4 separate regions of the Homo sapiens genome follow, and regions 1, 2 and 4 are each linked to region 3. Evidence: promoter capture Hi-C in 16 types of primary human blood cells and fetal thymus (Javierre and others, 2016). All regions are on one chromosome and are shown on one strand. The core of a region is centred on a gene start or on the middle of the fragment in contact, and the rest is flanking DNA. Distances in the headings are between cores, read along the strand shown.

The links. Contacts are between HindIII fragments. The CHiCAGO score rates a contact against its expected background, and 5 or more counts as called.
Region 1: a fragment that was not itself captured here is called in contact with the fragment with the promoter of HOXB1 in region 3 in 7 of 17 cell types (M1 macrophages, endothelial precursors, M2 macrophages and 4 more); the score reaches 8.8 in M1 macrophages.
Region 2: a fragment that was not itself captured here is called in contact with the fragment with the promoter of HOXB1 in region 3 in 4 of 17 cell types (endothelial precursors, megakaryocytes, erythroblasts and 1 more); the score reaches 7.1 in endothelial precursors.
Region 4: a contact is called between a fragment that was not itself captured here and the fragment with the promoter of HOXB1 in region 3, in 3 of 17 cell types (endothelial precursors, M1 macrophages and megakaryocytes). The highest score is 5.6, in endothelial precursors.

What each region holds. Positions count from the first base shown.
Region 1 is chr17:48,191,462-48,194,161 of GRCh38, forward strand. All of the region lies in intron 4 of SKAP1 (src kinase associated phosphoprotein 1), which reads right to left. Among named protein-coding and RNA genes, the nearest start is that of MIR1203, 36 kb to the left of the region's middle. RefSeq lists an enhancer at 708-1,325. The HindIII fragment of the contact is 2,282 bases long and covers 196-2,477 here.
Region 2 is chr17:48,150,947-48,153,646 of GRCh38, forward strand. The region is part of intron 11 of SKAP1 (src kinase associated phosphoprotein 1); the gene reads right to left. LOC124904018 (a long non-coding RNA gene) reads left to right here. Exons shown (of 2, transcript XR_007065827.1): 2 at 1-1,930. Among named protein-coding and RNA genes, the nearest start is that of MIR1203, 4.2 kb to the right of the region's middle. The HindIII fragment of the contact is 218 bases long and covers 1,242-1,459 here.
Region 3 is chr17:48,529,736-48,532,435 of GRCh38, forward strand. It overlaps HOXB1 (homeobox B1), which reads right to left and starts at 1,276. Exons shown (of 2, transcript NM_002144.4): 1 at 593-1,276; 2 at 1-140. The coding sequence starts at 1,169. RefSeq lists an enhancer at 1,166-1,746. The HindIII fragment of the contact is 6,798 bases long and covers 1-2,700 here.
Region 4 is chr17:48,174,173-48,176,872 of GRCh38, forward strand. All of the region lies in intron 9 of SKAP1 (src kinase associated phosphoprotein 1), which reads right to left. Among named protein-coding and RNA genes, the nearest start is that of MIR1203, 19 kb to the left of the region's middle. The HindIII fragment of the contact is 435 bases long and covers 1,103-1,537 here.

The DNA of each region.
Region 1 (2,700 bases), core at 87-2,586, 340 kb before region 3:
AGTATCTTGAGAGTTATGGTTGAAATAACTTTTTTTCAAACAATTGTTTTTTGAACATTTCCTACAATAACATTTATTCAATGGTGGCTATGAGCTGGCACTTTGCTCAGTGCTTTTCCTACTTTTTGTTTTAAAATAACATCTACGACAATTTAAAATGCAATCAAAATTACATTTTGCTTTAAAGCTGTTTCAAGCTTAGTTATAAAAAGGTAGATCAGAAGAGCCTCTTTTTCTGTTTTTAAGTGTGTCTATGTGCCTGATTTTTTATCCAATTGGTCCTTATTGTTAACCTCCTTGTTCATGGACTACTTTTATTTGTGTGTTTCACAGTTAGCAAACTATGTGGTTGCCATAAATCCTTTTAATCAATCTCAGGGTGCACGCATGAGATGAACAGCAGCAAAGGAAAGTTCATTTTTCTAGGGTTCTTTCATTTCTCCTACCCCTCTGAAAACACCCTCCAAGGAAACAGTAGCAGATTCTACTGAGGGTGAGGCATTGAGTGGGGTGAGGACCAGTTACAGAAGAGAAGGCTCTCTGAAGTGCTGTCAAAAAATTGCTCCTGGGGAGGCCAGGTGTGGTGGCACAAACCTGTAGTCCCAGCTACTTGGAGGCTGAGGTAGGAGGATCTCTTGAGTCCAGGAGTTCAAGGCTGCAGTGAGCTGTGATTGAACCACTTCACAACAGCCTGGGGACAGAGCGAGACTCTGCCTCTTAAAAAAAAAAATTGCTCCTGGAGGCCTAAAAATTAAATGAAAGACATAGGGAGATGAGGAAAACACGATCCCATAAGCTGGGAGTTTCCATCTCTTCTTTCCACAGGTTTTTTTTTTCTTTTCTTTTTAAAGGTCTTGTTAAACTTAGAGACACAGCTCCTTGTCAAAGATGCCAAGAGTCTGAATCATAAAAGACATGTTAAACGTTCTATTAGAATTCAAACCTCCTTTTTTTAATGCAAATTTAAATGCCATTTTATGGAACATCTATAATTATGAAAATGGGAAGACATTGCCTCGTGTGCAGGGAGAGTCTGTGAGTATGAATATTACATTAATGTGCCCACACCAGCTCACTGATCCTGCTGGCAGGAGCATAAAAAATGCCTGAGTGAAACTTTTATTTAGATGTTAAGACTCCAGGCCCCAGCGGGGTGACAGAGACAGCCCCTGTGAGTTGCCATCAGAGAGAGAGCTTGAATTGAATTACCCAGGGGGGAGGAAGTAGTGATGAGCACTGCTTCGCTTATTTAATTTCATTTACTTTCAGTACATTATCAGCATGAGGTTTTTCTCTCCCCACCAACTGAAACCCAAGAATGCCACCACTAAGGAAACAAAGACATAATACAGCAGAGATGTAACTCTAAGTCACTAATTCTAGGAGACAAGGGATAGCACCATCACCACCTTCTCTCCCCAAGAGTCAAACTCAGTTTGCTAAAATTGGGTACCAAAGGAGCTGCTGAATTTTTTCTCTTGGTCATTCACTAACAAGATTCTGAAAAGGAATAGAGCTGGAAACAGCTTTTTATATGGTGTGTTTTTGTGTATAGTCAGTAAGATGTGTTATGTTGCTTTCTTTCTTTCTTTTTTTTGAGACAGAGTCTCACTCTTGTCGCCCAGGCTGGAGTGTAATGGTGTGATCTCAGCTCACTGCAACCTCCACCTCCCGGGTTCAAGCGATTCTCCTGCTCCAGCTTCCCAAGTAGCTGGGATTACAGGCATGCACCACCATGCCTGAATAGTTTTTTGTATTTTTAGTAGAGACGGGGTTTCTCCATGTTGGTCAGGCTGGTCTTGAACTCCTGACCCCAGGGGATCCAGCCGCCTCGGCCTCCCAAAGTGCTGGGATTACAGGCATGAGCCACCGCACCCGGTCTATGTTGCTTTCTTATTCATTAGACAGAATCTGTATTGAGGAATTCTCTTGCCTGGTTCCCCTTATGGGCAGTGGGAAAAAATGGGATTATAGGCTCAGTTTAGAATGTCTACGGAAAAAAAATTAGGAAATGAGGTCAGATCAGTCTCTAGTCTACTAACTGTCTTCTGTGTACAAGGTACTGTGTGGTGAGTTCAATAACAGAGTTGTTCTCAATGTAGTTGGCTCTGAGCTCAATCTCATTAGCTCCATGATCTATCTGACAAATCCAAATAACCAAGGTGGGAATCCACAGTGGCATGCAAGGTACCTCCTCTTTCAGTGTCAGCGCAGGGTCCTACTGATCAAGAACTAGTGATCCTGAGGATGAACAGTGTTAGCCATGCCATGGGGTGATGAGGCAGGAATCTTGTATGCCTGGATCCACACCTACTGGTAAACGAACAGATCTGCAGAGAACTACTTAATGCATAATAGAAAGTATGTAAAATATGCTTTAAAGGACGGTTATAAAAATAGGAAGAAGTTGCAAACAATTGTATAAGTTGCTATTTTAAGGCAAACAATTTATATTTAAGTATACAATTAAAAAAAGAAGCTTTTTATTCATTACCTGAGAAAAGATATCACCACCGTCATGAAAAAATAAAAATGATTTTGATTTATTGAGAATAAATGGCCCTCTTGGCTAAGTCTAAAGGTGTATTACATTATATCAGCACAAAACAGAATTACATTAGTGTCATAATCTCTCCCTACCACTACACTTAACTAAACCTCTCAGAACAGCCCGTATAAAGAAAAGATTCACTTAGCTGA
Region 2 (2,700 bases), core at 101-2,600, 380 kb before region 3:
AACAGACGGGGATTTCACAGCCAGAAGACTTAGGAGGTCAACAGTTGAAAAGCAAGATTTAGAGAGATCTTTAAACAATCACACTAACCTCCCTCCCCTTCCAAAGACAGAAGGAGGAAAACATTTAAAGACGCAGCAGGAAAAAAAAAAAAAAAAAGAGCCTTTCTAAAAATGCAAGTTTAAAATGTTCATGCTTTTGTATCAGCCTAGTTGCACCTTAGAATCTGCCATTTCATAAATAAAATACCGATGGCATAGAGTATAATTTGGTGACAGCTACCCCAGGACATATCTAGATGCACTTCTGTTATTTTAATTAAATACTGCATTATGGTTTGTGACAACTACATAGCTATAGCGTAAATGAATTCAGAATTAAAGTGTTACTTAGGCATCCAGTAATTTTTGTTTCATTCCTTAGTTTTACAAAGCAAATAGCTATAAAATCAAGATGTTTGTTCATTTACAGATGGAGCAGGATTGTCGTCGCTGTTTTTTTCCTCCTTAATCCTCATCCACAAAAAGAAGACACAGTTCAGAGTCTGGCTCCCAACACTCTTAGCTTATGAGCCACATCACAAAGAAAAACACATCCTCTTGACTATAATGTGAAATGCTGAATATTAATTGCTGGTATTATGCCTATCTTTCTAGCTGGGTTCTGTCTTTTAACAATTATTCGGATGGGCTACAGCCTTGCACTGCCAGGAGATTCTTCTCCTTTGTTTAATAGTTAGAAACCAATTTTATTAAAAAACGGTAAAGTTCACAATGCTCCATGTAAGTTCTTAGTATTTGGAACTCTCCCCAAATACAGAATATTATCAGGAACAGAGAAACTGCAGACTCTCTTTGCTAAATATGATGAACATTTCTGCATTTAAAAGAAAAAAATATTTTTCATTTTAGCAATATTAATGTTTCCTTAATGAAACTGGAGAGGGTGTTACAATTTGATATACTTGGTTAGTTTCATTGTCACTTCACTAGCAAATCATGAGAAAGGTTCAGAATATTCTCATCTATCAGGTACAGATTTTCACTCAAAATTAATATGTAGAGTAAAAGGATTTTTGTTCAAATCTGAGGATTTAACTGTATCTTTAACGTTTCATATGTCAAGATGAAAGTTTTTAAATAACTAGTTTTCTGAAACCATTTCTATTATTTCTAATTTGAGAATCAATATGATCTTTTTATTAGCCTTAAATACCATACATCTGGGAATGTCTGCAAATTTAAGCTTTTCTGTGTTCTAATCAATTACCTTCAGTCTTGCATAACTAATCCTATAATCTCCATAGAAGTTACTGCCCTGTATGTTAGCAATGAGGTTATACTTTGTTTCAATATTTTGCTAGTTTGGTTGGAGAGCTGAATCACGCAATACCAAGAAATGGTGGCAGAAGAGGTTTGGGGAGGCTGAGTTTCTTTTGAGAAAATAATTATACTGAAACAAAGCTTTTGTGACTCCTTTTAAATAGGGCATCTCACCAAAATGTCATCCAGCCTCTTTGGCAGATTAGTGGGGAGTTTATTACTAAATCTCTGTCTAATAAATGTGCAGTTGACTCTGGAGGAGCTGCTTGTTATAATACTGGCGGTGGGAAATGGAGGGAATGTCACAGTTAAAGACACAAATTTTCCCCATAATATATTCAAATGGAAACCTCTGAATCCAATACTACATGGGCATATCTAATAAATTCACAATATTTCAGTTTCCGCAGCCTTCACCGGTTAGTTTTAAAGATTTATGTGGTAAAAAATTACTCAGTGATGAATATGGTTTATTCTGTGCAGTATTGGAGGTATAAGGAATTAAACTACCATCTTTAACAGTGAATTTATTATTACCTCTGTCAAAAGACGAAGACGTTAACAGCATTTGTTATAAATTCACTGCAAAATAAATGGCTGGAATTTTTTACACTGGAGTTTGTAAAGCATCGGGCAATTCTGAGCATTAACCTAACCCGGCCGTGGCTTATATGGTTCTAGGTAAACGTTTCTGTCTGGGCTTCGTAGTTAATTATCTGGTCTGGAATTTTCCCCAACTGAAAACTGTGTGCACATGGACACACACACACACACACACACACATACATACACAGAGAGAGAGAAAAGTGAAAGGTCTTGTCCAGGACAACTGTTTAGGAATAAATAGATTAGACTATTTATAGATAGATAGAATAAAATAAAATGCCAATTTTATTCTCTTTTTAAAAAATGGGTTTTAGAATAAATGGTCAGGGTTTGCAGGATGGGTTGATGAGCAACTGGGCCTCTTGTTAGCAGGTTTACATGCATGCATATGCACACACACATAAACACCCTCTCCCTTTTGTCCTCTCTTGGAATGGGTGTCCCCTCATTTATAAAAATTACCTGGAAGGAATGAGGCTGCCAGGGTTTGTTCTAGACGATTGGTTCCTGTCTGGGGGAAAGGAATGGCCTCTACTGAATTTGACCGGTATATGACCGTTGCCTTCCAGCTGACCCCAAATCCCATTCCCATCCTCCTAACTCCGTTGCCTCCCATAGGGGTTATTAATGAGAGAAAACACCATCATCATCATCTTCGTCATCACAGCACAGTGTTGACCTGCTTGTTAACATGAAATGGGGTGGTGGGGACAGCTTCTGCTTCTCTTGCATACCATCATAAATAAGAAAAGATACTTTGCCATAGGATCCCCT
Region 3 (2,700 bases), core at 26-2,525:
GGTGGCGGCAATCTCCACCCTCCGGGCCCGGCTCAGGTACTTGTTGAAATGGAACTCCTTTTCCAGTTCTGTCAGCTGCCTTGTGGTGAAGTTGGTGCGGAGGCCACTGGGCGAGCCCAGGCCTGGCTCTGACACCTTCGCTAGGGGCGGGGCAGGGAGAAAGGCCAGGTCAATTCTCTCACCTCTTTCTCCTTCCGCTTCCCTCCTCCCGGGGCTGGCTCTGGACCTCCATTTGCCATTCTGCCCAAGTACAGTTGTCAAAGTTCCCAGGGACCACCAGGTACCCCCATGGTGATCACCAAGTCTGGAGCAGCCTTCCCCATACTTCCATCCCCCATGCACACCAGGTCCTGGGTCTGTGCTGGGTGCACAGATCAGGAAGTGGGGTGTGTATGGAAACTTACTCCTGGGGTGACCGGTTACATACTGGGTGGGGAGACCTCACCTGACCTGAGACGTAGGTTGTGCTCTTACCTGTGTCTACCAGAGCCGCTGAAAGAGAAGAACCCAGCCCAGACCCAGGACATGTCACTGCAGGGGAAGCAGAGATGCTTTGGGCCCCGGAGAAGGGGTGGCCACATCTGAGCCCTACCTGTCTTGGGTGGGTTTCTCTTAACCTTCATCCAGTCGAAGGTCCGGGCCGTGGGGGTGTTAGGTTCTGAAGGGCAGGGTGTTTCCTTGTCCTCGGAGAGGAGATCAGCATAGGCCGGTGCAAAGCTCGCGGTCTGCTCGTTCCCATAAGGGGGATGCTGCGGAGGATATGGCCCCGGACCGGCTCCACCTGCTCCGTAGCCATCGGACAAGCCCCCTAGCTGGGCCCCGTAGCTCGAGGGATGAAAATAGCCTCCGTCTCCTTCTGATTGACCCAGAGGGTAGTACTGAGAAGGCCCGTAGCTGGGGCTGCAGGCGGCAGGAGCATACCCCGAGGGCGCGGAGCTGGGGAAGGGCACCCCCAGGGTCGAAGGCGGCTGCTGGGCGGGATAGCCGGAGTTCTGCTGAAACGCAGGGCTGGACAGCCCCCCACCGTAGCGGCCCTCGCTTGCATAGCTGTCAACCGCCTGAGCCGAGCTTGGGGGAAAGGAGGTTGGGGCGCTGTGGGCGCTGTAGGCGCTGGGTCCCCGGTTACAGAGTGGGTACTCTAAGAAGGAGTTCATCCTATTATAGTCCATGCGTCAAGGCCGCAGGAGGGTCGGCCCGTTTGGGGGAGACACCCTCTTGCCCTACAACCTTTCGGCAGTATGTCACAGCGCTGGGGCTCGAATCCATGGCCTGACCCGCTCGCCTGGGCAAGCGCTTCCCTAGGAAGGGGGTAGGGAGTGGGGGTGAGGGGGCACATGTGATCTCTCCCAGGCCAATGGGCTAAGCGGGCCAGAGTTTGGCAGCCCCAGCGCCCATCCATCACCCCCCAAGCATTAGCATGACAAAGACACTTCAATCACCCGCAGCCCATCCATCTGAGAGCGACATGGAAGCGTCAAAAACATCTTTCTTCAAAGACTTTTGGAAAGAAGGGACCAGAGGGAGAGGGGGAAAAAGTTAGGAGAATATTCAAGACTTTCCTTCCCTCCCAACCCCCAAGGCCTTCAATAGGCTCCTGGGTTATTAGATTTGGACAAATTCAAGCCAGCTGCCCCTCACTCTTCCCACCCCTCAGAGAAACCTTCCCCCTAAGTCTGTGGACCTGGAGGTGGGGAATCCAGCTTCCATACTTTGCCCAGAACTCCCAAACCATGTTCCTTTCTTCCAATTTGTCTTAGGGTGGTGGGCTAGGACAGCCGGGTGAGGTATGTTATCTTGGGCCAAATGGATGACTGTGTGGTGGGGAGGTGGGGGAAGGTGGTGCAAAAACACCTAAGGGTGTGGGGCAGGATCTAGAATCTAGAGGAAGAATTCATGAAGCCAGGGGTGGGAAATTGGCATTTCAGGGAGCAAGGCAGGACTACAGAAATGTGGAGAAAAGGATGAGAAATGCCCCATCTTCCCTCTCTCTCTCTTTGCATAAATGTTCTCTCCTCATTCACACATCCATTTCTCTCCCTCAGCCTCTCTTTATATTCTCTCTGTCTCAATCCATCTCTCTGTTCGTCCATCTTTCTCCATATTTATATTCGTTCCCTACCTCTCATCTCTCTAGATGTATTTATCCTCTCTCTAGCCATCCATAGCTGTAGCTGGCTCACTCACTCAGACTTAAATAACTCCCTATATCTCTCTAGAGAGCCACAATGAGCACAGCCAGGTGATGTTTACAGCGGGGTGAAGAGGAGGGGAATTTTTTATTCTCTTCTTGAAGTGTTTAAAACTAGTGGAGACCTGCATTCTCCTGGTTCCCTCCTACCTGTCTCTCCTTCACCACCCTCCATCTCCTTCCAAAAAAAAAAAATTTCCAAACCTCAAATGCATAAATTTAATACCAGTTAAATCTTAAAGATTCCTCCAGATTTCAGTAATTTTTCTAGGATTGATAAAGGGAGTTTGGTCAGAGAGTGGGAGAATCGGGGTGGAGGCCCTGAGGCTCTGAATTCTAAGACTCCAGAGTGAGGAGTGGAGTCTCGCCCCTTTTTGTTCTGTGTGGCTGTTGCGGAGGGACACAGGATGTGTCTTCTTCACTCTCTCAGACTCCAAACCCAGATGGGACTAGAAGAGAAGCCCTTAGGTAGAGCCCATTGACTCTCCTCCTCCGGACAACTTGAGGGCAAG
Region 4 (2,700 bases), core at 70-2,569, 360 kb before region 3:
AGCTTTTATATCATTCACCGCCATTACTAAGCTCTACGATGATGGATGTAAACGGGGAAGCTCCAATCCCCACATCTGTTTTATCTAACACCGTCCTTCCCAGGTGGCTGAAAGTAGGCTCAAATCAAGAAGCCTTCCCATTGATGGGCTTGGCGCTATGCCTCTGGGGTCTTTGGAAGACTGGGTAGGGGGCACTGTCACATAGTGAAGGAAAACACCATTCACAGCTGGTTGTGAAAATTACACCCCTAGACACCTCCCTAGGTTCAGAGGGCACAATACAAATAGGCATACAAGTTATCTCAGATCTTTCCATGAAACTGAACAGGTGTCTTTGCAACCCCAGAGTCAAAGACAACTATTATATGGCAACAGAAAAAAAGTCTTGTTGCTCACAAGAAGGGGTGGGTTAAATAGCTAAAGTTCTCATTTTTATTAATCTTTAATGTGACACTTTAATTTTAAGAGACTATTTTGAAAAATATTTTTTAGGCTAAAGAGCTTGTTGAATTTCTTTATAAGAATATTATTAGGCATTTCAGCATTATGTCTACTGAAATACATCTTCATTTAAGAGTGAATTAAAATTTATGTGCTAGCTCAACTTTAAACAGTAATGGATTATAATGGTCCTTGCTCCTAACAGGGCATATGGGACCCCAACCTTACATAGGTTTTAAACAAATTAACCTCTAAAGATTACTGTCCACTTATCACATTAAATGCTCTACTTGATCCCCAAATATCTCATCTCAATTGGGAAAACAGTTGAAGAAGATTCTGTTAACTGTGTGAACATGTAAGAGAACCATGGGGCATCACAAATGAGCATCAGTATCTGGAGAGTCGATTTCAATAAACATTCTTGGCACAATGTCAGGGACACTAATGAGAGGCTGAGAGGAATAGGACACTGAATCCACCTCAGAGGGACAGAGAGGAGCCAGCAGCTTCTCATGACACCTGGCTATTTTCTGAAGTGCTGCTCTGACACTCCTCTGACATTGGCTACACTGATATCAGAAAGAATAACATTAGAAAAAAATGACTAAATCAGAAAGAGGGGAAATCAGTTACTTCCCCAAATAAAGAAAGTGATAAAAGCTTCAAAAAATGCCAACTGTGTAAATGTGCAACCAGATGTCAAGGTGCTGTGGTGACAGATGCAACAGAAATACAGATAGACTCAAGGTGCAAAGGGGACATGCAGAAAAGTAGAAATAAACTGCTCCCCCGCATGCACAGATATGTTATAAATCCACGGATGTATAGCACCTCATCAGACAACATGCAAAATACAAGCAAGATGCTAATAACACATTTAATTCTCTGTTGTGTATTTGGTTATCTCAACTGTTAGCTCAAAATATTCGCATCCTATTTCAGTGATATGGGCTTGATGTATAAGATATTAAACTCAATTTGTGCTAACTGCAACACTTGGAATGCACTGAATTTAACTTCACAAATAATACCTAAGCATCTACTAACTGGGGAGAAAGACCTGAATACAAATCACTGGTGAGGGCTAAAACAAAGCTTAATTCCAGTTGAGTATCTGGGAAGGTGTCACTGAGGAGACATATTTGAGCAGAATGTGTATGATTTCACAGGCTGAGATCAGGGGGATGGTCTAGGTAGAAGAAACAACATGATTCTAGTTTTGGTGCTGGCCAAGCAGCACTGTGTGGCTGGGGCTCAGTGGGCATGGGAGTAAGACAGAGAAAAGGCCAGAAGTTCAGAGGAGGCCTGATGTTGGTGTTGACTCTTCCCTGATGCTCTTTCTTCATAAACTTTGTATTTTTGGTCTCTATTTTGTTTCATTTCCTTAGACTTCTTATCTTCACTGTTCCCCCTTCCTGTGGGTCTGAACAACTGTACAGGGGGAAAAATAATTCCACAGAATGCTTGTTTCCATTTGACTCAAAATTTTAAAAACTCAGTTATATGCTTTATTTTAAAGCAATCTGGTTTCTAGGTTTATAATAACACCCTGGGGCAGTGTGGGCAGCATTGGAATGTGCACAGAAATTCCCAAAGATGGCTCGTCATCTCTCTTTCCATTTGCTCTTCTGAAATCTCTCTAGAGAACACAGCCAGATTCCGTTGCCATTGCAGCTGCTACAAGGCCCCAGTTACAGCACTTCAATGGTCTCAGACGTCTTGCTGGATCCCAGCCTTGAGACCTCAGACAAAGCGAAACCTGACAAAAGTTGTCCTTTTATGGAATCTTGAATCATGGAGCTGGGCCTATGCTGGCCTGTAAAATAACTTCGGTGGTGGTGGTGGTGGTGGTGAGAGAGGGCTCAGAAAAGCCTCCATTTTCTACATATTGCTTTAGCATTTCTTTGTGGTAGTTCCCTGCAGTTTAATCTACTGCAAATGAGATCCTAAAAAAATCAAGGGCCCACATATGCTCAACACGGATGTTCAGAAATTCCACCAGATACCAACCTTGAAACCATATTTTCCAGGACTAACGTTTTTGTGGCCTGGCTGAAAACCTTGAGGGCTCTGGTTTTCCCTCAAGGGGAGAAGAGTGCTAGCCACATAGCAAATGCTAATTATCCCATGATTAATGTGATGGAGTGAGTTTAATGTGATGACCCATGCGTTATTTTGATTACAAAAAAACATTTTTTATTGACTTGGTATGTATTACATACACTTTTCTCCCTATTAGGAAGCCCATCTAAATTA